5 separate regions of the Homo sapiens genome follow, and all the other regions are linked to region 2. Evidence: promoter capture Hi-C in 16 types of primary human blood cells and fetal thymus (Javierre and others, 2016). All regions are on one chromosome and are shown on one strand. The core of a region is centred on a gene start or on the middle of the fragment in contact, and the rest is flanking DNA. Distances in the headings are between cores, read along the strand shown.

Region 1 (4,899 bases), core at 720-3,219, 200 kb after region 2:
TCTACCCATCTGAAAAAGGCCTAATATCCAGAATTTACAAGAAACTTAAATAAGTTTACAAGAAAAAAACAAACAACCGCATCAAAAAGTGGGCAAAGGATATGAACACACAGTTCTCTCTGTTTTTTTTTGGAGACAGAGTCTCACTCTGTTACCCAGCTGGAGTGCAGTGGTGCAACCTGGCTCACTGCAACTTCAGTCTCCTGGGTTCAAGCAATTCTGCCTCAGCCTCCCAAGTAGCTGGTCTTACAGGCGTGTCCCACCACGCCCAGCTAATTTTTGTATTTTTAGTACAGACAGGGTTTCACTATGCTGGCCAGACTGCTCTTGAACTCCTGACCTCAAATGACCCGCCCTCCTCAGCTTCCTGAAGTGCTGGGATTACAGGCGAGAGCCACTACACCCAGCCTAAACAGACACTTCTCAAAAGAAGACACTGGCTGGGCGCGGTGGCTCACGCCTGTAATCCCAGCACTTTGGGAGGCCGAGACAGGTGGATCATGAGGTCAGGAGATCAAGACCATCCTGACTAACACGGTGAAACCTTCTGTACTAAAAATACAAAAAATTAGCCAGGCGTGGTGGCAGCCGCCTGTAGTCCCAGCTACTCGGGAGGCTGAGTTAGGAGAATGGCATGAGCCCGGGAGGCAGAGCTTGCAGTGAGCGGAGATTGCGCCACTGCACTCCAGCCTGGGCGACAGAGCGACACTCTATCTCAAAAAAAAAAAGAAGACATTTATGCCACCAACAAACATAAGAATAAAAGCTCAACATCACTGATGGTCAGAGAAATGTAAATCAAAACCACAAGGAGATAACATCTCACGCCAGTCAGAATGGTGATTATTAAAAAGTCAGGAAACAATAGGTGCTGGCAAGTCTGTGGAGAATTAGGAATGCTTTTACACGGTTGGTGGGAGTGTAAATTAGTTCAACCATTGTGGAAGACAGTATGGCAATTCCTCGATCTAGAACCAGAAATACCATTTGACCCAGCAATCCCGTTACTGGGTATATACTCAAAGGAATATAAATCATTCTACTATAAAGACACATGCACACGTATGTTTATTGCAGCACTATTTACAATAGCAAAGACACGGAACCAACCCAAATGCCCATCAATGATAGACTGGAAAAAGAAAATATGGTACATATACACCGTGGAATACTATGCAGCCATAAAAAAGAATGAGATCATGCCCTTTGCAGGGACATGGATGAAGCTGGAAGCCATCATCCTAAGCAAACTAACACAGGAACAGAAAACCAAACACTGCATGTTCTCACTCATAAGTGGAAGTTGAAAATGAGAATATATGGACACAGAGAGGGGAATAACACAAACCAGAGCCTGTTGGGGAGTAGGGGGAGAGGAGAGGGAACTTAGAGGATGGGTCAATAGGTTAAGCAAACCATCATGGCACACGTATACCTATGTAACAAACCTGTACATTTCTGCACATGTATCCTGTTTTCCTTTTTTAGAAGAAATAAAGAAAAAAAAGAGTAGATAATAATATCAAGAGTAATTTATAGAAGACTTTTGTGAACTCCAAATTTTTATTTGTGGTTGATTCCCAATTGTCACCCAATGTTACTTTAACAGGACTATTAAACTAATGAAATGTTGGACTAAAAGAAAAAAAATTAGCTAAATATACACAGCACTGAATGGCATGCCATGCACTATTCTAAGTGTTTTACAGAATTAATTCACTTAATAGTCACAACAACCTTATAAGATTATTCTCCCATTTTTTTAGATGAGAAAACTGAGAACCAGAGATTTTATAGTCACAAAACCATTAAATGGCAGACATAGGATACTAATCCATGGAGTCTGGCTTTAGAGTCCCTGATCTTAGCCACTATACCACACAGCTTCTCCAAGGAAAAAAGAAAATGATTATTTTTTGGACCTGATTACAAATGCCTGTAAATATTTTTCTTTTAACAATTCTGAACTCTACATAAAGATGAAACTCACAAATAATGGAAATTAAGTAGGAAAGTCCCAATGAGGCAAGATAAATAGTTTTGACGTCAACTTTACAATAGAGGAAACTTTGGTAGTAGGACAGAGGAAGCAAGAAATTTAAAAACTTCTCTGTGATAGGAAAAGTATATTCAAGGCTGCAATGAGCACAAGGTTAATCTTTTCATGCTTTAATTCAAGAAGTCCTGTAACCACAGAATGCATTCCTAAACATTTATTTAATATATGGCAGGCATTGTTGTAACAATACATAGGCACTTGGCAGAAGACAGAGCTCTATCTCTAGCATTCCTCCATATGCACATTTCAATAAGAACAAATAGCTGAAGCCATAGAAATATGCCTTATAAAGATACTGTGCTACAAAACCTGAACTTCAAGGAATGATATTTTTTGACCCAAAGATATGGCCAGTTTGTAGTAGAGCAAAACAATCTGTGTGGGATGTGGAACACGGTGTTTAAAAGCTGGTCCATGGACCATACTGGACCATCATAATAAAGGGAAAAAAATGACACAAGCCAGACCAAAATGGAGACATAGCCCTAACCACTGTATTCTCAAAAGAGCCAGAATACAGGTGTCTTTCCCTTACTGAACCAGACTAGGATTGCTTTTTTTAAAAATCACAATAACCAGTAATCAATCAAACAGTTCCAACTGCCTTTATTCTGCATCATATATGGTGTTGGTGATACCCAGACATTAACTGCAGTGTTCCTGCCTGCCTAAAAGTGGAATCCTTGGTTGATCCTCAACTGAACTAGGGTCTAGGGCAGCCTCAGACAAATGGTCCAGGATGACAGGGCAGGCAATGGACAGAGACACTTCCACTTGCAGTCTAGATCTTGCCAGCATGATCTGCCCATGAAGGGAAGATATTGACATTTTTATTACTTCTATCAGGACAGAAACTGTATGCCACACACTGAGGGGCAAGTTTCTCTAATTTTTTAGAGAAACACAAAAAGTAAGCAAGCATACTTTTGTAATAAAGAAGGACCTTAAACAGGAAGTTTGTAGAGAACATTACATTTTTTCCAGCCTTATTATATATGCAGCCTCACTCCTAGGAACAAGGACACGGATCTCACATTGCTTTGAAGTAGGGGGAAAAAATCTTCAAAGGCTATCTTTAAACACTGAAAATGTATTACTGTAAAGAACTCAGCAATTAAGTAAATCACAGGAAATCCCCAAGATATAAGGTATTTAATGTGGTTTTAAGAAATGGAGCCATCAGCTCTGCCTGGGAGAACAAATTTCACCAAATGTTCCTTCTCTTAACCTATAGCTTTAATTTAATGCAACTGCTGCTGCAATCCATTATATCAACTGGTATATATCTGACCAGTACTTCACTCAAGTCTTTCCCTTTTTTTTTTGAGTGCAGTGGTGTGATCTCAGCTCACTGCAACCTCTGCCTCCTGGGTTCAAGCTATTCTCCTGTCTCGGCCTCCCGAGTAGCTGGGACTACAGGCACCTCCCAACACACCCAGCAAATTTTTATATTTTTAGTAGAGACGGGGTTTCACCATGTTGACCAGTCTGGTCTTAAACTCCTGACCTCAGGTGATCTGCCCGTCTTGGCTTCCCAAAGTGCTGAGACTAAAGGCTAGGGCCATGGCTCCCAGCCATATTTCATTTTCTGAATAATTTGATTCACTATATTTTGGGCTAAATATATTGCAAAATATATTGTACTTATTTATTTTATTTTTAACTTTAAAAACTCAACTATTTTAAATAATAATGTTAAAACATAATTCTCATTTAATTACATAGAGGTTGCATGGTGAAAATAATTTAGGAAAAATACCACTAACATTTACTGAGCTTTAAATACGTGCACTTACTATGCGAGGCACTTTACCCATATTATTGCATCTACAGTCTTCACAGCAGCCCCATAATTTAGGTACAATTATTACCTGTATTGTACAAATGAGGAAACTAAAGAGAAGAGAAGAGACTTAATCAATGCCATACAGTAAGTGGCAGAGCCAGTAAATTAACCCAGTTCTAACAGCCAAGTTCACTTTTGCAAATGCTAGGTTGCACATTGGGAGAAATAAAGGTCTTACCCCACCATCAATGTGGTTTAGCACTGAAACTCATTGTTCTTAATTTCATAGAGAGTAGTTTATGTATCCTTCAAATGGGGAAGAAATCTATTTAATAATATTTGACTCCAGTTGTAGCTATGTGACTGTAGGCATCTGATGGAAGGTGGAAAATTCAGTCAACCATCTAAGCACCTAGTTGACTTAATACTAGATACTTACAAACATAAAGATGTTTGAGTAACTAAGGACTTTTTTACTTTGCACTTGGTTGTGTGGCATCCTGGCATCATAGAGACATATTCCAAACTACACAGTTTAAAATTATAGATAGACTTTCCATAGAACCTCAGTGGCCAGATTTTCTAATTTAAAATTGCAGTAGCCAAACTGATAAATGTGTGCTTGTAGGGAATAATAAGACAGAATATTTAAAACCTGAAAAATCACTGGGCATGGTGGCTCATACCTGTAATCCTAGCACTTTGGGAGGCTGAGGCAGGTGGATCACTTGAGGTCAGGAGCTCCAGACCAGCCTGCCCAACATGCATTGCATCCATAGCTTGGCTGACTTTCTTAAAAAACAGGTTGATGGCAAGAAAAGAGAACTGAGTAGATGTTATAAATAGTTAAGTACAAATCTATCACTACTTCTTGCGAAAATGCTCAGGCTGCCACACTGATGATGAATAGATAGCTCGTTCTTCCCAAACTGAGTGCAGTAGAGTGTTGCAGTGCTCAGTTGGGTAGGACAGATGTTGGATAATTGGGGTTATCCAACATCTCTACTAAAAATACAAAAATTAGCTGTGCGTGGTGGAAGGTGCCTGTAATCCC
Region 2 (4,963 bases), core at 1,013-3,512:
CATGTCCTTTGTAGGAACATGGATGGAGCTGGAAGCCACTATTCTTAGCAAACTAATGCAGGAACAGAAAACCAAATACTGCATGTTCTCACTTATAAGTGGAAGCTAAATATTCAGAACACGTGGACACATAGAGGGGAATACACTGGGGCCTACTTGAGGGTAGATGGTGGGAGGAGAGAGAGGATCAGGAAAAATAACTAATGGGTGCCAGGCTTAATAGCTGGGTGATTAAATAATTTGTACAACAAATCTCCATGACATGAATTTACCCATATAACAAACCTGCACATGTATCCCAGAACATGAAAGTTAAATTATAATCACATTAATAATAATAAAATTACCACGAATCCTGTTTACTCTTAAATTCAGAGATATATATGATCAAATTCAACACAATTTATCTCTCTGGCTATGCATATGTGATAAATACCATTTGGCTTCCCCAACCTCTACTCCAAAATCTCATAAGAAATCTCTATTTGAGAATAGATGTCATCTTAAAATAGTTTTAAAAATACTAACATTACTGTAGCTTAATATGTTAAATGTATGGGTAAGGAAATAGCTATGAGAATAAACAGGTTTTCTTTTTTTTGTTTTTTGAGACGGAGTCATGATCTGTCGCCCAGGCTGGAGTGCAGTGGTGCGATCTCGGCTCACTGCAAGCTCTGCCTCCCGGGTTCACACCATTCTCCTGCCTCAGCCTCCCGAGTAGCTGGGACTACAGGCGCCAGCCACCACGCCCGGCTAATTTTTTGTATTTTTAGTAGAGACGGGGTTTCACTGTGTTAGCCAGGATGGTCTCGATCTCCTGACCTTGTGATCTGCCCGCCTCGGCCTCCCAAAGTGCTGGGATTACAGGCGTGAGCCACCACGCCCGGCCACAGGTTTTCAATATAATTAGAACTCTTCATCTTAAGCTGACTTTTGACAGCTTTGTAAAAGTCTGTGAGTCCAAATCCCATTAAAGAAAAAAATATTGGTTTATCACATAGGTCCTCTGCATTAATTTAACAATAAGTTAGTTGACTGAGCACAGTGGCTCACGCCTGTAATCCCAGCACTTTGGGAGGCCTAGGCGGGTGGATCACTTGAGATCAGGAGTTCGAGACTAGCCTGGCCAAAATAGTGAAACTGTCTCTACTAAAAATACAAAAAAAAAAAAAAAAAAATTAGCCAGGTGTGGTGGCACATGCCTGTAATCCCAACTACTTGGGAGGCTGAGACAGGAGAATCAATTGAAGAGGCAGAGATTGCAGTGAGCCTAGATTGTGCCACTGCACTCCAGCTTGGGTGACAGAGTGAGACTCTATTTCAAATATATATATATATATATATCTCTCATGTTAGCTAATATCTCAATTCTCTTTGTGTGTGGAGGAAATTAATGACTGCCCTCTCAAAAATGACATGAATTTGTCCTTGTCAGTCAGCCAGCATTGAGAAATTTTGTCTCATGAACCGTAAGTCACACTAATTTACCATGTTACTGAACATGGAAACAGTCTTCTTCCTTCAGATTGGAACGTTTTGCAAGAATTAGGTGAAGAAAGCATCCTGAAGAGGGCACTGTGGGATCTCAGTAATCTTCACAGCTACAAAGCTCATGCTTAATGGTTTATTTTATATTGATACCAGAGGCTGGATTGTCTCCTTAGTAAACTCTCCTACCACACAACGCAGACATCTTACTGACTCTGAAGGTGGGTGGGCTATTGCCCTCCTAATGCCCCTCCACTCAGAATGAGCCCTTCCTCCAGCTCAAGATCAGCTCCACACACCTGAGGCGATTCCCTGAACCAGTGAGCTTTCCCCTAGGGCTGGACTTTTCAGTTTCAGTAACGCAAAGGGAACACATGCCACTGGATAGTTCACAAAGAGTTGATGTAAAAAGCATAATGGAGGAGGGGAAGCAGCTAAGGGGTAGAAGTTCAAACCGAGAAGCTAGCTGATCTTTGGGAAAGTGTTCCATGGTCTGCCACAAGAAAGGCAGAAGCGCCAAGAGGGAGTGGCTGAATCTCTAGCAGGAAAACAGTGGGAGCCTTTGTTCATCTAGGAGGCGAGACTGAGAGAGAAAGTACCAGTAGGAAAGGTCAACTTCCAGAAAAGGAAACTAGAGACTGGAGAGCTCACCATCCGGAGCCTCAGGAGGAGTATCCCGTGGTGTGCAAGTGAGAAGTGGGGGGCAGCTATTTCGCTCACAGCCAAACAGCCCAGACCAACTGCAACCTCACTGACAGTTACTTGCTCCAAACTCGCCCCTAGTCTGCACCGGTTAGCTTCAGGCCCATCATCTCTTACTTGATTGGCTGATGAAATGCAACGTCATTGCTCCTGTATATCTCAGGCATTTGACGGCTTAAGGCTTTGTTTTATTTTTTAAAAATAAACAAATAAGGGGTGAAAATGAACCTACAGAAATTGCGCCATTGTGTTAATTTAAGACTTTGGGACAGTGGATTTCTGACAAAGAGCTGTTGGACACTGCTTTCCCAGAATTCTAGTAAAAGGAAGTTTCCTGGATAAGATAGTGTGGTAGAGATATGAGGACGCAGGTTGCTGGGTTAGGGAAAAAGTGAATGGATATTGTGGGCATGTAAGAGAATGAAATCAAGATGACAAGGTGAACTTTCACTCTGGGTTATATGTGAGGAAATTTTCAGGAATAATGATATACTCATTTGTTTTTTCTAAACATAATATGTAAAAAATATTTTAATTGAAATTACTTAGTTATTACTATAGAGCCAACTTTTCACATTCCTACTCTCATAAAATATCTTAAAGTTATTTAAAATTGTATTTAATGTTTTGTTCTCTGTGTTTCATCTCTTTCTCCCGACCCACACGTTTATAAGTGAATGGTGGTAAAATTCCCAACTCTTCATTTGGCCTCCTCTGATACTACCCTGATGAAGAAGGCAGGAGGCAACTTGTTTGGCTGGGTTGGAGCAGAAGTCCAGGCTCCCTACATGGTCTCCAACTGAGGCATGGGGTGCATCTTTATGGCCTGGTTGTTATGGAAGTTCCAGCTCCCACAAGGCCTTTTCTGATACTGCTCTGGTTGGGGTGGGGAAACAGGCAGGGTTCTGGCATCTTGTATGGTATGGGTGAAGTTTAAGCTTCCTACTCAGTCTTTGCTGGTATGTGGGTACAGGGAGTGGGTGAACACTTTTCTGTGGTGTTTGGTTAAAGTAGAGCAGTTACTGGTGAAATTTTCTGTCTTGCTGGGCTGCCCCTTTTCTTGGGTCTTTAAAAAATCTATTCTCGGCCAGGTGCAGTGGCTCATGCCTGTAATCCCAGCACTTTGGGAGGCCGAGGCAGGTGGATCACCTGAGGTCAGGAGTTCGAGACCAGCCTGACCAACAAGGTGAAACCCCGTCTCTACTAAAAATACAAAAATTAGCCGGGCATGGTGGCAGGCGCCTATAGTCCTAGCTCCGGGAGGCTAAGAAAGGAGAATCACTTGAACCCGGGAGATGGAGGTTGCAGTGAGCCGAGATTGCGCCACTGCACTCCAGCCTGGGAGACAGGGTGAGACACCGTTTCAAAAAAAAAAAAAAAGGATTCTCATTGTTGGAAATACATGCCACATATCTGTGTGTGGGTTGTGGTTCATGTGTGGATATATATTTAAAAATTAATTAAGTTGCAAAGCTAATATTTGCCACATTATGTATTTGTTTATATACATATGTCTTGCTAAGTTTATATATATATATATATATATATATATATAAATAAAACAGGAAATGTAAATGTTGTCTAATATTTCTCTTTAGCAATATACTCTAATGACCACACACTGGACATCCTTGTAATCCAGAATCATTCACCTTTTTTTTCCAAGAGATGGGATCTCACTCTGTCACTCAGGCTGGAAGGTAGTGGTATGACCATAGCTCCCTGCTACCTTAAACTTCTGGGCTCAAGCAGTCCTCACACCTGAACCTCCCAAGTATTTGGGTGAATACTTCTACAGGCATGTCACCACACCTAATTTTTTAATTCTTTTTGTAGAGATGGAGTCTTGCTATGTTGCCCAGGCTGGTCTCAAACTCCTGGCCTCAAGCCATCCTCTCCTCAGCCTCCCAAAGTCCTGGGATTATAGGCATAAGCCACCTCCCATGGTATCAGTGGAGACCATGCAGGGAGCAGTAATAGGACACCCTTCTCTTTCCCATCCAGGGGGCTATCATCAGAGACCTAGTGAAGAGCCTGAAGCCCCACTCCTACCTAAGCAGTAAGAAGACACCCCTTCTTCGGCTGTGTGTCAATGAAGACTGAGTAGAGAACTTGAGCTTTTATTCCAACTTGCCTACAAGAGGTGACCCCACTTCTCCTGCCAGAACAGTGTCAGAGGATGCCTGGTAAAACCCAGGATTTAAATAAGATCCAGTATCTTATAATATCTGCAATGTCCAAATAGAAATTGAAAATCGCTCATCATACCAAGAACCAAGGTGATCCCAACTTGAATGAGAATGGACAATAAAAGACACCAACCCTAAGATTACAAAAATGTTAGAATTATCTAAAAAGGATTTTAACATAGCCATCATAAAAATATTTCAGCAAATGCTAATAATTATGAACAGTATTGAAATAGATGAAAAAATAGAAAGTCTGGGCAAAGAAGTAAAGTTCCAGGGAAAAAAATAGGTGATATAAAGGGAAGCCAAATGAAAATTACAGATGCAAAAAATACAACAACAAATTCTAAAAAAAAAAAAAAATCAGCAAATGGACTGCCTTGCACCTCTCTTGTTAAACTTATTCCTGGTCATTTAATTCTTTTTTTTTTTCCTTGCAATCACAATGGAACTGGGTTTTTAATTTTATTTTTGCATTATTCATTGCTAGTGTATAGAAGTACAACTGATTTTTCTGTATTAATCTAGTATTCTATAACCTTGGTGAACTCATTTATAGGTCAGTGCCAAAGTAATGGCAAAAA
Region 3 (5,302 bases), core at 290-2,789, 240 kb after region 2:
AAAGCTATACATGTTTAAATGAGTACAAAATGTACTCATTTACTAGACTCCTTTAAGTTTGCTAGAGTTATGTCAGAAAATGAGGCAGAATAGACTATAATGAAGTACTATAGCAAAAGAGAAAAAAATTAAATAAAAATCCTGTATAGTAGACTGATTCTAGGTTAGTGTATGTATTTGCCAAAGACTGAGCTCTACTGGACTGTCTTTAATTAAATTCTGAAATTTTTTTATGTTCATTGCACTTAAAAACATTAGGAGCTTACTTTTCATTGGGGGAAACCAATTACTATTATGAATTATATATAGACAGTCTTCCAAGTTGCTACCTAGCATCCAGCAGAGATGTGCCAGTTAGGCATAATAGGACTTCAGGAGTAAATATGGTTTGGACTGGAAGTTTTTGGTTTGTTTCAATATCAAATCAGTTCAAAGTTCTTCTTAGGGACACACTTTATTAGCAATGCCCCACAGTCTGATTAGACGTGGCATCTTAGTCTCCACATCTAATCTAACACATAGTAGCCGAAACCACCACCAAGTCAAGTATTAACCTAGCATCAAACTAATTCAAGCTATCTGGCATGTAAATCATTGATTTTGACTGTTTTTGATAAATCTATGCTATGAGTACATGTACTTTAGGATCCAACAGTTTGCTTGGGCATTAACTTGAATGTATTACTTTTGTCAATCCAAGAAAACTGAGTAGGAAAACTATAGTAAGATACAAGAAAGGTGCTACTGTCTTGAGAAAAATGAACGTACTATATTTTAAGAATATCTAAAGCACTTCACGTAGTACATTACTTTTAATTAACGTATTTGTTTAAGCTGAATTATTTGCTTCAGAGACACCTCAGATTGACACAACCTAATTTTACTTTTACCTGATGGGAAAGTACATTTTTGGTAACATGTTAAACTGGAAATGTACATAAGAAAAAGATACTCATATTATTATTCTAAATTAGTAGTTACCTCTGTAACAAGGGTGAGCTACTGCTACACATGGGGACATGTTCTAATCAACTAAGCAAGGCATAACTATCACAATATAACATTTTCTAAATAAATGAAAGACTTCTACTAGGATTTTCAGATGAGAAGTTAAAACAAGTTATAGCTACTGTATCATTAAGGTTACACTAAATTTCTCAAAAAAAAAATCGTTAACAGCCATTTTGCCACTAATCTTACATACAGGGAAGGATACATATGAACTCCAAGTTCTCCCCCTCCTTCTGCAACAGTCTCAATGATTTTCTTCATCACCTCAGCATGCCTAGAAGCCAAAAAAAAAAAAAATTGTTAATGTAGATCGATTAGACCGAAAGAAGAAAAACATATTTTCATTTGTAAAGAAATCGACCCTATTACTCTCAGTGAATTAATTTTTAATAGTTATATTATAAACTATCTCCCCCACCACTCCCCAATAACTATAAAATATTTATTAAAATAGTTAAATTATAAAATATCTCCCCTCCACTTCCGAAACACAAAAGATAACAGATTGTTATGCCATGCCAACAGTTTTACCAGGGGAGGGCATAATCTTAAAAAGCTATGGTAGTCACAGCAGACACCATGGCATTAGTTAGTGTTCTGATAATTGGGAGAGACAAGGAAGGCAGAAAACCAGAGATGAGGAAATCATTCCAGGAGAAAATGTGGAATGATAGCTGTTTGCTCTAAGAAACAAGAGTCATATCAGGCAAATTAAAAAAAAAAAAAAAAAGACACATGGTATCAGTTGGACAAAAAAGCAAAGAGGTATCTATAATCTTGTGATCTGGGCTGTTTATTTAGCTGAGAATAAGCCAAAACTGAGAGGGTTTAAGAAAAGCTAATTGGTTAGAGTTGAGAGGTTTGTATTTGTTTCTTTGTCCTAATAGGTATTCTAAAATTTATCCAATTCTATGTAAAAATAAATTTTTTGGCTTATAAGAAGAAAGGTATTTATTTATATGAAGTTTTTGTCCTATCTATACATCTTTTCATGGCTAACTGTTCTCTCTCCTGTACTATAGAAAAGAGTGATATCAAAGTTAGTATCTAGGCACAGAAACCAAGAAAAAGATAATTTTTAAAGAAACAGTCTTTTTAACATACCTTGGCTTAAATAATGCTGCTTCAGTTTTTACGACTATAATCTTCATGACAGAGACAGTCAACTTAGAATATGAGAGTAAATGTATGATTCCAGAGGATTTGAAGGCACAATCTGAGGCAGCCCATGGAATGGTCTAAAATGTCCTTGAAGTTTTATTTTATAGGCACTCAGATTTTTTGAAATACTTATATCCCATTCCACAATACAGTCATCTATTTTATTAAAATGTTTAACATAATTACCAGTTATTTTTCCCCCAACTGAGTAAAGTTTATACCTCAGAGAGATACGCTTCAGTTTGATAAGCACCATCCTAAGACCTTAAACCATAAGAGGAATCAAGAGAATAACTCTAAAAACTGAAAACTTTTTAGATTACATAATTCAAAACTAAAACTAATGGCTCCTAAATTATTTTTCATAGTTAGCAAAGTTTCAGACATAATAAAACTGAAAAAATGAGCAAGGTCTTCCACGGAGTTAAAGTTTGAGAGTAAAGAGGTTGCAGAATATGAGAAGAAAATATTAAAGGTTGTTTTTAACTAGAGGGAAGAGAAAACAAAATGTTTCATCTAACTAGTCAACAGAATATGAGTTTCACTGAAAAATATTGTTACTAGTATGTTACCAGTATTTTCCAGTCAACTGGGAAAGTTATCTATTAGAAATAACCAACCTAAAGAAATTGGCATGTAGTAACTGTTTTTTAAGAAAAATTCTGAACTAATCATGTATATAGGTTCAGCTTCACAGATTTGGCTCTGTGAAAAAACACTGATACAAAGAAAATCCCAACTTATAAAATGCACTTGACTTGCTAAGGCTGACAAGCTCTCAACTGAAGAACATACATCCATATATCTCCCTTCACTAATCAATAAAAGAAAGCAAATAGGTCACCTAGAAAAATCACAAGGTTAACTCCACAGTCTACATTCACAGAAAGGCAGTCACAACACAGCAAACCATATCTAAATGACTATTTCTGAGTCAAAAACAGAATCTTCCAAACTGTTCTGGAAGCTAAAAAGTGTAGTAAAATCACAAAGATCCATCTATTCTATAAACACCCACAGAGAACAAAAAAATTCTTAACATATTAAACTTAAAACAAATTGGTAAGTTTTTTTTCCTTTTTCTTATATATTTAAGCACAAGAAAATTTCTAAGGAGGACAAGAGAGAATTTTACTTTTTAGTAAGAAAATTTTTTTCTGTTAGGGTTCTATGTTTAAAGATTCTCAAGTAATAAATCCATGAAATATACAATCACATCAAAAAATATATTTATCTCTACATATACAGACCTGCATGGGTGAACTGAACACATGGGAGGTGGTGGCAGATGAGGGTGATTTTCAATGGTCACTGTTTTCTTCACATGATCCTGACTGATGTCTTCATACATGTGCTCAACTGTTAAAGGCTGCCGTTGCTGAAAGCATAAAAAATGCTTTGAAATTACTATTTAAGGCCGGGTGCAGTGGCTCACGCCTGTAATCCCAGCACTGTGGGAGACTGAGGTGGGCGGATCACATGGTCAGGAGATCGAGACCATCCTGGCTAACATGGTGAAACACCGTCTCTACTAAGAATATAAAAAATTAGCCGGGCAGGGTGGTGGGCGCCTGTGGTCCCAGCTACTCAGGAGGCTGAGGCAGGAGAATGGCGTAAACCCGGGAGGCAGAGCTTGCAATGAGCTGAGATTGCGCCACTGCACTCCAGCCTGGGCGACAGAGCGAGACTCCATCTCAAAAAAAAAAAAAAAAAAAAAAAAAAAAAAAAAAAAAAAAAAGAAATTACTATTTAGAAACTTTCAGCCTAAATCTCAAGGTTTATAATATATTTAGTTCTCCATCTCACATCACTTGCAATTTAGAATTCTAGACTGTTTAGAATGATTTCTGGGAAATTTTACAATTTATTAATATCAAGGGAGGGACAGGAAGGAGTCACAGCCAAGCTCTGTGACAGCTACCCCCAATGCAGAAAAAAAATCTCACAAAAAGACAAGTTTGTGGCTATCAAAACATTTTATAACTTTGTGGCTCATCTTTTAGACTGACTTTATTTTCTTGTTTCCCATGTATAGCCATAAGAATGACAGGTTAAACAAGTTGATTTCCTGTCAATTATCCTTTAATTCAATTAAGTAGATGAGTTTTCTGTCTTAAGGGGAAAAATACATACATACAACAATCCACTCTCTTCACATGTGACATGGTCATTCTGTAAATGCCTATATATCCAACTGATGTAATCCCAAACAAAATTTAATAAAATAAACCAAGTTAAATTTCCCTCACATTTTGAAGGCATAAGCCTTCAAAAAAGGAATATGTAATAGATTATTTCTGTTTATGTCTTAGCATTATTGTTACACTGAATAATTCATAGTTCATTCAAAATAAGAAAGAATCAAGTTCAACATTAATCATAAAACTGTAAAACAGATGATTTCCAAAATGTGAAACACTGCAATAAATACTCATGGACCTAATGAAGAAGAAATTAAAACCCAACAATTTAAAATATTGATATTAAAATATAATGCTTTTCATTTTTACCTCATCATAGCCAAACAACCATAATCGTGGAGTCTGGTAATATTTATCATAAGTGATGTAAAGGTCATAAGTTCTGGTTTGCAAAATAGCATCTTCACCGCCAGCATCAGTTTTGGCTTTACAAGCTTCTACTATTTTCCTTGTATCTAGGGTAGCCTGAAAATAATAAAAGAGAAAAATTTACAACCATTAAATCGGTATGAATGTGACATTCTAGAAAACTTATTTTTTCCATTCTATATTTTGTTTTCTTAAGAGTAAATGAACTTGGAACTCAAAGCTACGTTTTATATGCTATAATCAATATGAACAAATTAGAATGTCTTTGAAAGATCAATATATTATTAGTAAGAACATGCATCCCCAAGTTCATCCATTAAAAATTAACTAAAGAAAACTCAATTTACAAACCTCATCTGTTTCCAACAATCCACTCTCTTCATATTCTGTTATAAAAAAACAACAAAAGATTAATCAAGTTCAAGTTCAAGAAAATTCCCTAAACCAATTTAAGTATTACTTCATAGTATCATTCAAAAACTGGGGTTTTGCCTTTGTTTTTAAGTGAAGATATTGAATAGATAGATATAAGTGAGCTAATTCTATACTTCCAAAGGCGA
Region 4 (2,842 bases), core at 1-2,500, 160 kb before region 2:
TATAAGTATCATTCTGTACATTTTTCTGAATTTGAGGCATAGTCAACTACCTACATGGTTGAATGTGAAAGCCCTTTATAAAGTAGTATCAGTTACAGTATGTAAAAATGTTTGGAAAACACCATCCAAAAATATCTCCCCCCGTGAGCTTTCCCATGAAGTTTCATCAGGAGGAGCAGTGGAGGAGAGGCTGACTGCATCGTGACCTTGGCTGTGATCACCTGCTTGGCTGAGCATTCTGACAACCTCTAAGATCTATGCATCATCAAAGCCTTTGGGGCCCAGAGGCACAGCTGCAGCTCTTCCTCTTCTTTAGGTTACCTTCAATGTGCTTCAGACCGTTTGCTTACATTATCTGCTTTGTTGCTAAGGAAACATCGTAAGAAAACTACTGAATCACACCAAGTTAACAAACCAGATTCACTGAGGAGAAATGAATGAGATAAGAGGAGGGGGATGATTTTGAGAGATATTCTCTGAACTCCTGAGGCCACAGTTTTTAAATCTATAAAAGAGGATGTATATACTGCTTACACATGGAGTTATAAGAATAAGCTGAGGTTAAATATGGGCAAAAACGATCTGTAAGCTGGCTGTTTCTCCTACTTGACTTTTCTGCAGTTTATTCTTGCATTTCAACATGGTGGTTTTGGTTTGGGATGGGTTCAGATAGCCTCCAAGAAGCAAGCTAGACAAATCTCTATACCCTTAGGCTACGTGTCAGGAATTTGAGGTATCTGTCTCTTTCACAATGCCTTCTCTGGCTCTCTGGTCTACCCAACCTCTCCCTTGTTATAATGCCGTGGCCCTTCTGATTTATTTCATCATTTGAACTGTATGCCTTAAAATATGCCCAATGATACCCCTGAAAATATGTAATTCTCAACTTGAACTGAAAAAATTCACCCTGTTGAAAGGAATCTCTGGGTCTCCAGCCCCTAACGCGGGCATTGGTGTTAGAAAATAACAACAGTGCTTGTTTTTTAATTGCTCCTCTTTCAAAATCTCCTCCTGAAACCATGTGAAAAGCACAGATAACTTTACAGGCCACAGAAAAACTGACCTTGTCAGCCCTTAGGATTCTTGGATCCTGGAACATTAGTTCCATATTTTAATTATTCCTTTCCTTAGAGAGAATTCTTTAGGGCTGGACATTTGAAAGGTCTGTTCAAAAAGAATTAATGAGGTGGTCTTTGTTTAACAACATCAGGGCAATCACAATGGTGTCTCCACAAACTTTCTAAAAATTGTCGTAACATGGGGCATGTGGTCACTTCAGAAATAGACACCTATAGCTTAAAATAAAATGGCTAGGGTGGAGGTTGAGCACAAAGGTACCTGAGATAGACAAACAAAATGACAACAGGAAATAAGACCTTTTATTTTATAACAGGGCATAACAGGGACTAGCAGGGTCTTAGTTCCTGTTGCTAGGAGTTACATTAGGCTTCTAGCAAAGTAGCATATCTCCTGTCCAAAGTTTTCAAGCATTTTATCTTTTGTCCTGTCTTCACATTTGTTACTATTGCAACTGCTACTGGTCTAAACAGGGCCCTCTCTCACTGGGATGTGAAGTCCAGGGCTTGACATACTTCGTTCTCCTTGGGCAAGGTCTGGGGGGTGTTTGGTTGATTTTGCTCTCACCTGGATGTTCTCTGTTTGGGGCTTTGCATTCTCACATTCCAAGGCATCTCTTGAGTGTTCTGCTGCCGCCTGAAACTCAACATATCAGAAACAGGCTAAGTATTTCCTAAACAGGCCTGTCACTTCTTTTCATAATTTTTCCGACTTTCCTCATTTCTGCTATTTGTGTGTAACTCAGAAATTGACTGGTTGCCCTCACACATGTTAATACTGTTTCCTCAAGCACATGTCGCAAGCTACCTTTGATCTGACATGCTCTCCATTGCCACAGCAACAGCCCACTGATGTTCTCCAACCTCCATGAACAAGTGATCCTAAATCATCTGATCCCAAATATCCAGGGATCCTCGTCATGACCCTTGAGAGTATCCGTGTCCAGAGAGAGGCCTGAGGTCCTCAGCTACCATCTCTTTGGTGCAGTTCCAGGAGCTATGCACAAGTAATGGGGAAAGGTACTGGCTTTGTCTTGTGTAAATCACACCATCTTTCACAGAAAGCATGGAGGCCCAGAACAAGGGACAGAAGGAGAAGAAAAGGATTGAATAAAGAAAATAAATTGGTTCATTGTTTGGGTTAGATTTCTGTATACCCATCTTCCCACTTGTTGGGAATTGGGAGTATGAGGATAAAGAAACTAACACTTAAACACTACTTACTATATGCCAATCATTTTGTGTGTTATATTTCATTTAATCCCAGAATAAATCCATAAGATAGATATTATCATTATATTTTTTATACTAATGAGGAAACTGAGGCCCAAAATGCTAGGCAACTGGTCTGAGGATCCACAGCCACTAAGGGGGAAAAGCTGGGTTTGCTGCTGGCAGGTCTCTTCCTCTGAGACTGAGCTCCTCTCATGAAGGGATGAGTGCCATTCTATTCTGTGCAAAATTTCCCTGACTTCTTAGCTTATTTGATCTGGAGAGACACGGTTGGGGGGGTATGCTGACTAGATGATAACTGGGTGTTGGGGTGACAATGAAAATTAGATACCAATATATACAAGACTTTTGAATACGTTAACGGAAACATTTTATTTAATTATTTTAATGAATTTATTTTTAAGACTGGGTCTTGCTATGTTGTTCAGGCTGCCCTCAAACTCCTGGGCTCAAGCAATCCTCCTGCCTCAGCCTCCTGAGTAGCTGGGACTACAGGTGCATGCCACTGCACTTGGTTCAAGGGAGACCTTTTA
Region 5 (5,025 bases), core at 1,447-3,946, 150 kb before region 2:
TCAAAAGCTTTCTCTATGTCTATGGAGATGATCATATGGTTTTGTTTTTGATTCTGTTTATGTGGTGAACCACAGTTATTGATTTGCTGGATGTTGAACCAGTCTTGCATCCCAGAAATAAAGCCTACTTGATCGTGGTATATTAACTTTCTGATGTGCTGCTGGATTTAATTTGCTAAAATTTTGTTGAGGATTTTCACATCTATGTTGATTGGGAATATTGGCCTGTAGTTGTCTTTTTTCATTGTGTTTTGCCAGGTTTTGATATCAGGGTGATGCTGGCTTTGTAGAATGAGTTAGTGAGGAGTTCCTTCTCATTGATTTTTTGAAATAGTTTCAGTAGAATTAGTACTAGCTCTTCTTTGTATATCTGGTAGAATTTGGCTGTGAATCCACCTGCCCTTGGCTTTTTTTTTTTTTTTTTTTTTTGGTTGGTAGGTTCTTTTTTATGGATTCAATTTTGGAACCTGATATTGGTCTGTTCAGTTTTTCAATTTCTTCCTGATTCAATCTTGGGAGATTGTGTGGTCCCAGAAATTTACCTATTTGATATGGTTTGGCTGTGTTTCCACCCAAATCTCATCTTAAATTCCCACATGTTGTGGGAGAGACCCGAAGGCAGATAAATGAATCGTGGGGGCAAGTCTTTCCTGTGTTGTTCTCATGATAGTGAATAAGTCTCACGAGATCTGATGATTATATAAGGGGGAGTTTCCCTGCCCAAGCTGTCTTCTCTTGTCTGCCACTATATGAGATGTGTCTTTCACCTTCTGCCACGATTGTGAGGCCTCCGCAGCCACGTGGAACTGTAAATCCAGTAAACCTCTTTCTTATGTAAATTGCCCAGTCTCAAGTATGTCTTTATCAGCAGCAGAAAAACGGACTGATACACCATTTCTTCTACATTTTCTAGTTTGTGTATGTAGAGGTGTTCATAACAGTCTCCAAGGATCTTTTGTATTTCTGTGGGATTGGTTATAACGTCACCTTTGTCATTTCTGATTGTGTGTATTTGGAGCTTTCTTTTTTTTTTTAATCTAGCTAGTGATCTACTGATGTTGTTTATCCTTTCAAAAAACCAACTTTATTTCCATTGATTCTTTGTGTGGACTTTTATGTCTTAATTTTGTTCAGTTCTTTTCTGATTTTAGTTATTTCTTTTCTTCTGCTAGCTTTGTAGCTCATTTGTTCTTGTTTTTCTAGTTCCTAAGGGGTGAAATTAGATTGTTAATTTGAGATCTTTCTAACTTTTGAGGTAGGCATTTAGTGTTATAAACTTTATGCTTAACACTGGTTTTGCTGTATCCCAGAGACTTTGGTATGTTGTGTCTCTTTCATTTATTTCAAAGTTGTTTTTGATTTTTGCCTTGATTTAATTGTTTACTCAAACATCATTCAGAAGTCAATTGTTTAATTTCCATGTAATTGTGTGGTTTTGAGAGATCTTCTTGGTATTCATTTCTATTTTTATTCCACTGTTGTCCAAGAATATGGTTGGTATGATTTTGATTCTTTTGAATTGATTGAGACTTGCTTTATGGCTGAGCATGTGGTCAATCTTGGAATATTTTTTGTGTGCGGATGAGAATAATATACATTGTGGTTGATGGGTGGCGTATTCTGTAGATGTCTATTAGGTCCAAGTGTTGAGTTAAAGTCCAGAATTTCTTTGTTACTTTTCTGTCTCAATCTGTCTAATACTATCAGTGGGGAGTTAAAGTCCCTCACTAGTATTGTATGACTATCTAAGCCTTTTCATACACCTAGAAGTATGTGTTTTATGAACCTAGGTGCTCCAATATTGGGTGCATATAAATTTAGGATGATTAAGTCTTCTTTTTACATTGAACCCTTTATCATTACATAATGCATTTCTTTGTCTTTTTTACTGTTTCCTATTTAAAGTCTGTTTTATCTGATATAAAAATAGTGACCCCTGCTCTTTTTTGTTTTCCATTTGCATGGTAGATCTTTCTCCAGCCCTTTACTTTGAGCTCATTGGTGTCATTATGTGTGAGATGCGTTTCTTGAAGGATAGGTCTTGTTTTTTAAATTCAACTTGCCCCTCTATGCCTTTTACGTGGGGGTGTTTACACCATTTACATTCAAGATTCATATTGATATGTAATTTTGATCCTATTGTGAAGTTGTTAGCTGTGTATTGTGCAGTTTCTGTTGTGTTTTTGTTTTATATGGCCTGCAAGGTATGTACATGGGTGAGTTTTTGTGGTAGCAGTTGCCATTCTTTTCTTTCCTTGTTTAGAACTCTCTTAACAGTCTCTTGTAAGGATGGTCTCATGGTAATGAATTCCCTTAGCACTTTCTTGTCTGGAAAGTTAATTTTCCTTTGCTTATAAAGCTTAGTTTGGCAGGATATGAAATTCTTGGTTGGAATTTTCTTTCTTTCAGAAAGATGAATATAGATCCCCAGTCTCTCCTGGCTTGTAAGGTTTCTGGTGAGAAATCTGCTGTTAGCCTCATGGAGTTCCCATTGTATGTTATCTACCCTATTTCGCTGACTTTAAAATTTTTTCTTTGGCACTGACCCTGGACAGTCTGGTGACTATATGTGTTGGGGACGTTCATTTTGTATATTGTCTCTAGGTTTTTGTATCTGGATGTCTACATCTCTAGCAAGATTAAAGAAGTTTTCTTGAATTATTTCCTGAAATATATTCTATAGGTTGTTTGACTTTTCTCCTTCTCTAGGGAATGCCAATAATTCATAAGTTTGATTTCTTTATATAATCCCATATTTCTCAAAGACTTTGCTCATTTTTAAAATTCTTTTAAACTTTATTTCAGGCAGACAGGGTTAGTTCAAAAGAGTGGTCTTCAAGCTCTGAAATTCATTTTTCTCTTTGGTTTAGTCTATTGATAACATTTTCAATTGTATTTTCAATTTTTTTAGGTGAGTTTTCCAATTCCAGAAGCCCTGATTGATTTCTTTTTAAGGTGTTTATCTCTTCTTTCATTTCCTGGATTGTTTTAAGGTTTCTTTGTGTTGATTTCCAGCTTCATCTTGGATCTCATTAAGCTTCCTTATAATCCATGCTTTGACTTCCTTATCTGTATCTCTGAGTTTACATTTTGGTTAGGGACCATTGCTGGAGAGCTAGTGAAATCCTTTAGTGGTGTTACTACATTTAGATTTTTCATGGTGCCAGAATTCTTGCATGGGTTCCTTCTCATCTGGAGACACTGGCACTTCTAATTTTTGTAATTCTTTTCATGTGAGTAGAATTTTCCTTTTTCCCTTTAATAATATTATTATTTGTTTATATTTTATTTTTTCCCTTCCCTTTTCCCCCACTCCCTAGGGGGTATGACCATAGAGAATGCTGTTTTGGCTTTGCTACTGTAGCTCTATGTCTTAATAAAACTTTTGGCAGGTTTTATATTGGGCTGTGCAGTTCATCGTACAAGCCTGTAGATGGTACTTACAGTAAGAGCTGGCTGTAGCCAATGTGTTTAGGTATATACTTGACCCGTGTTTACTGGCAGAAACTATTGTTTTAGGCAATGGGCTAATTCCTAATATGCACAGTGGTCTGAGCTCCCTGCTCAGCCTTGAGGGGATGGGGAGTAGGAGCCAAAAAGGGTGTGTCTTGACTGGGCAGGTCTGTCTGCAGGTCTCTTGATAGCAGGCACAAGCACCAGTGCCAATAGAGAATCCAGTGAGTGTCCACCAGGTACTCACTGGTGTGCCTGGGCATGGAGTTGGGAAACCTTGGCTCTGAGTTCTCTGCACAGGGATGGGGGCAGCCTAAGCTCCTAATCTAGAAGAGTGGGTGCTTCAGATGCCTGAGATCTGCTTGTGTGTGGAGCAGAGATGGCCCCCCTGCACCAAGATCTCTGCACAGGAGGGGTAGGGTGACTCAGGCTGCTGGCCCAAGGAAGCAGGTGCTCTGAATGCTTGGAGATCTGTGTGAGCGTGGAGCAGAGAAGGTCCCCCTGTACCAAAATCTCTGCACAGGAAGTGGGGGGAGCAGTTGGGTCAGGCTGCTGATCCAGTGAGTGCATAGTCTGAATGCCTGGAGATCTGCCTGGTCATGGAGCAGAGAGTCCCACTGCTTCATGATTCTGGAAGGGTGGGGTGGCTCAGGCTGTTGAAACAGGTCAGTGGGTACTCTGAATGCCGGTGATCTGCCTGGGCATGAAGCAGAGAGAGAGTTCCCACACACCAGGATCTCTGCACAGAAAGGATGGGGTGGGTCAGGCTGCTGATCCAGTGAGTGAGTAATCCAAATGCCTGGAGATCTGCCTAAGTGTGGAGTAGAGAGAGCCCTGCTATACCATGATCTATGTGCAGAAAGGATGGGGTGGCTCAGGCTCTTGAACCAGGCAAATGGGTGCCCCAAATGTCTGGAGATCTCCCTGGGCTTGGAGCAGAGAGAGCCCTGCTGCACCACAATCTATGTCTAGGGAGGATGGCATAGCTTAGGCTGCTGAACCAGGTGAATGGGTATTCCAAATGCCTGGAGGTCTGCCTGGGTGTGGAACAGAGAGCCCCACTGTACCATGATCTATGTCCAGAAAGGGTTGCATGGCTCAAGCTGCTGAACAAGGCAAATGGGTGCTCTGAACACCTGAGATCTGCCTGGGTGGGGAGCAGAGGGAGCCCCACTGCACCATGATCTGTGTCCAGGAAGGGTGGGATGGCTTAGGGTGCTGAACAGGGTGAATGAGTGCTCCACATACCTGCATTTCTACCTGGAGGTTGAGCAGAAAGGGCCCCACTGCACCACAATCTCAGGGGAGCAGGGTAAGGCACTCAGCAATGGCACATACAGATAAGTTTGTGGTTGCCAAGCTGGCCCTGGCTGCAAGTCTCACTACCCAGAAGAAATTACAGCTGTAGCAGTTTTCCTCCTACCCCAGACTTGCAATGGGAAAAAGCACAATTCTAGCACCTACTGTTGAGGCACTTCCCACAATTCTGGCAGTGAAGGCTCCTACCCTGCTCCAGAACAGGGTGTTCAATCTCTGGCCTGAGACTAAAATGCCTGTATAGCCATGCTGCTG

The links. Contacts are between HindIII fragments. The CHiCAGO score rates a contact against its expected background, and 5 or more counts as called.
Region 1: a contact is called between a fragment that was not itself captured here and the fragment with the promoter of SLC9C1 in region 2, in 5 of 17 cell types (naive B cells, naive CD8 T cells, total B cells and 2 more). The highest score is 7.6, in naive B cells.
Region 3: a fragment that was not itself captured here is called in contact with the fragment with the promoter of SLC9C1 in region 2 in 16 of 17 cell types (naive B cells, megakaryocytes, naive CD4 T cells and 13 more); the score reaches 21.7 in naive B cells.
Region 4: a contact is called between a fragment that was not itself captured here and the fragment with the promoter of SLC9C1 in region 2, in 2 of 17 cell types (naive B cells and M2 macrophages). The highest score is 6.6, in naive B cells.
Region 5: a fragment that was not itself captured here is called in contact with the fragment with the promoter of SLC9C1 in region 2 in 1 of 17 cell types (naive B cells); the score reaches 6.0 in naive B cells.

What each region holds. Positions count from the first base shown.
Region 1 is chr3:112,493,393-112,498,291 of GRCh38, forward strand. All of the region lies in intron 1 of BTLA (B and T lymphocyte associated), which reads right to left. Among named protein-coding and RNA genes, the nearest start is that of BTLA, 3.6 kb to the right of the region's middle. RefSeq lists an enhancer at 4,544-4,663. The HindIII fragment of the contact is 6,214 bases long and covers 1-4,899 here.
Region 2 is chr3:112,291,954-112,296,916 of GRCh38, forward strand. SLC9C1 (solute carrier family 9 member C1) reads right to left here and starts at 2,263. Exons shown (of 29, transcript NM_183061.3): 1 at 2,140-2,263. The HindIII fragment of the contact is 3,564 bases long and covers 1-3,126 here.
Region 3 is chr3:112,533,053-112,538,354 of GRCh38, forward strand. It overlaps ATG3 (autophagy related 3), which reads right to left. Exons shown (of 12, transcript NM_022488.5): 8 at 5,094-5,128; 9 at 4,683-4,838; 10 at 3,423-3,550; 11 at 1,217-1,285. Among named protein-coding and RNA genes, the nearest start is that of ATG3, 26 kb to the right of the region's middle. The HindIII fragment of the contact is 6,531 bases long and covers 1-4,805 here.
Region 4 is chr3:112,128,801-112,131,642 of GRCh38, forward strand. GCSAM (germinal center associated signaling and motility) reads right to left here. Exons shown (of 6, transcript NM_152785.5): 2 at 1,645-1,713. It also overlaps a transcript of C3orf52 not described here. Among named protein-coding and RNA genes, the nearest start is that of GCSAM, 3.0 kb to the right of the region's middle. The HindIII fragment of the contact is 3,561 bases long and covers 1-2,842 here.
Region 5 is chr3:112,145,183-112,150,207 of GRCh38, forward strand. All of the region lies in intron 28 of SLC9C1 (solute carrier family 9 member C1), which reads right to left. Among named protein-coding and RNA genes, the nearest start is that of TBILA, 14 kb to the left of the region's middle. The HindIII fragment of the contact is 678 bases long and covers 2,358-3,035 here.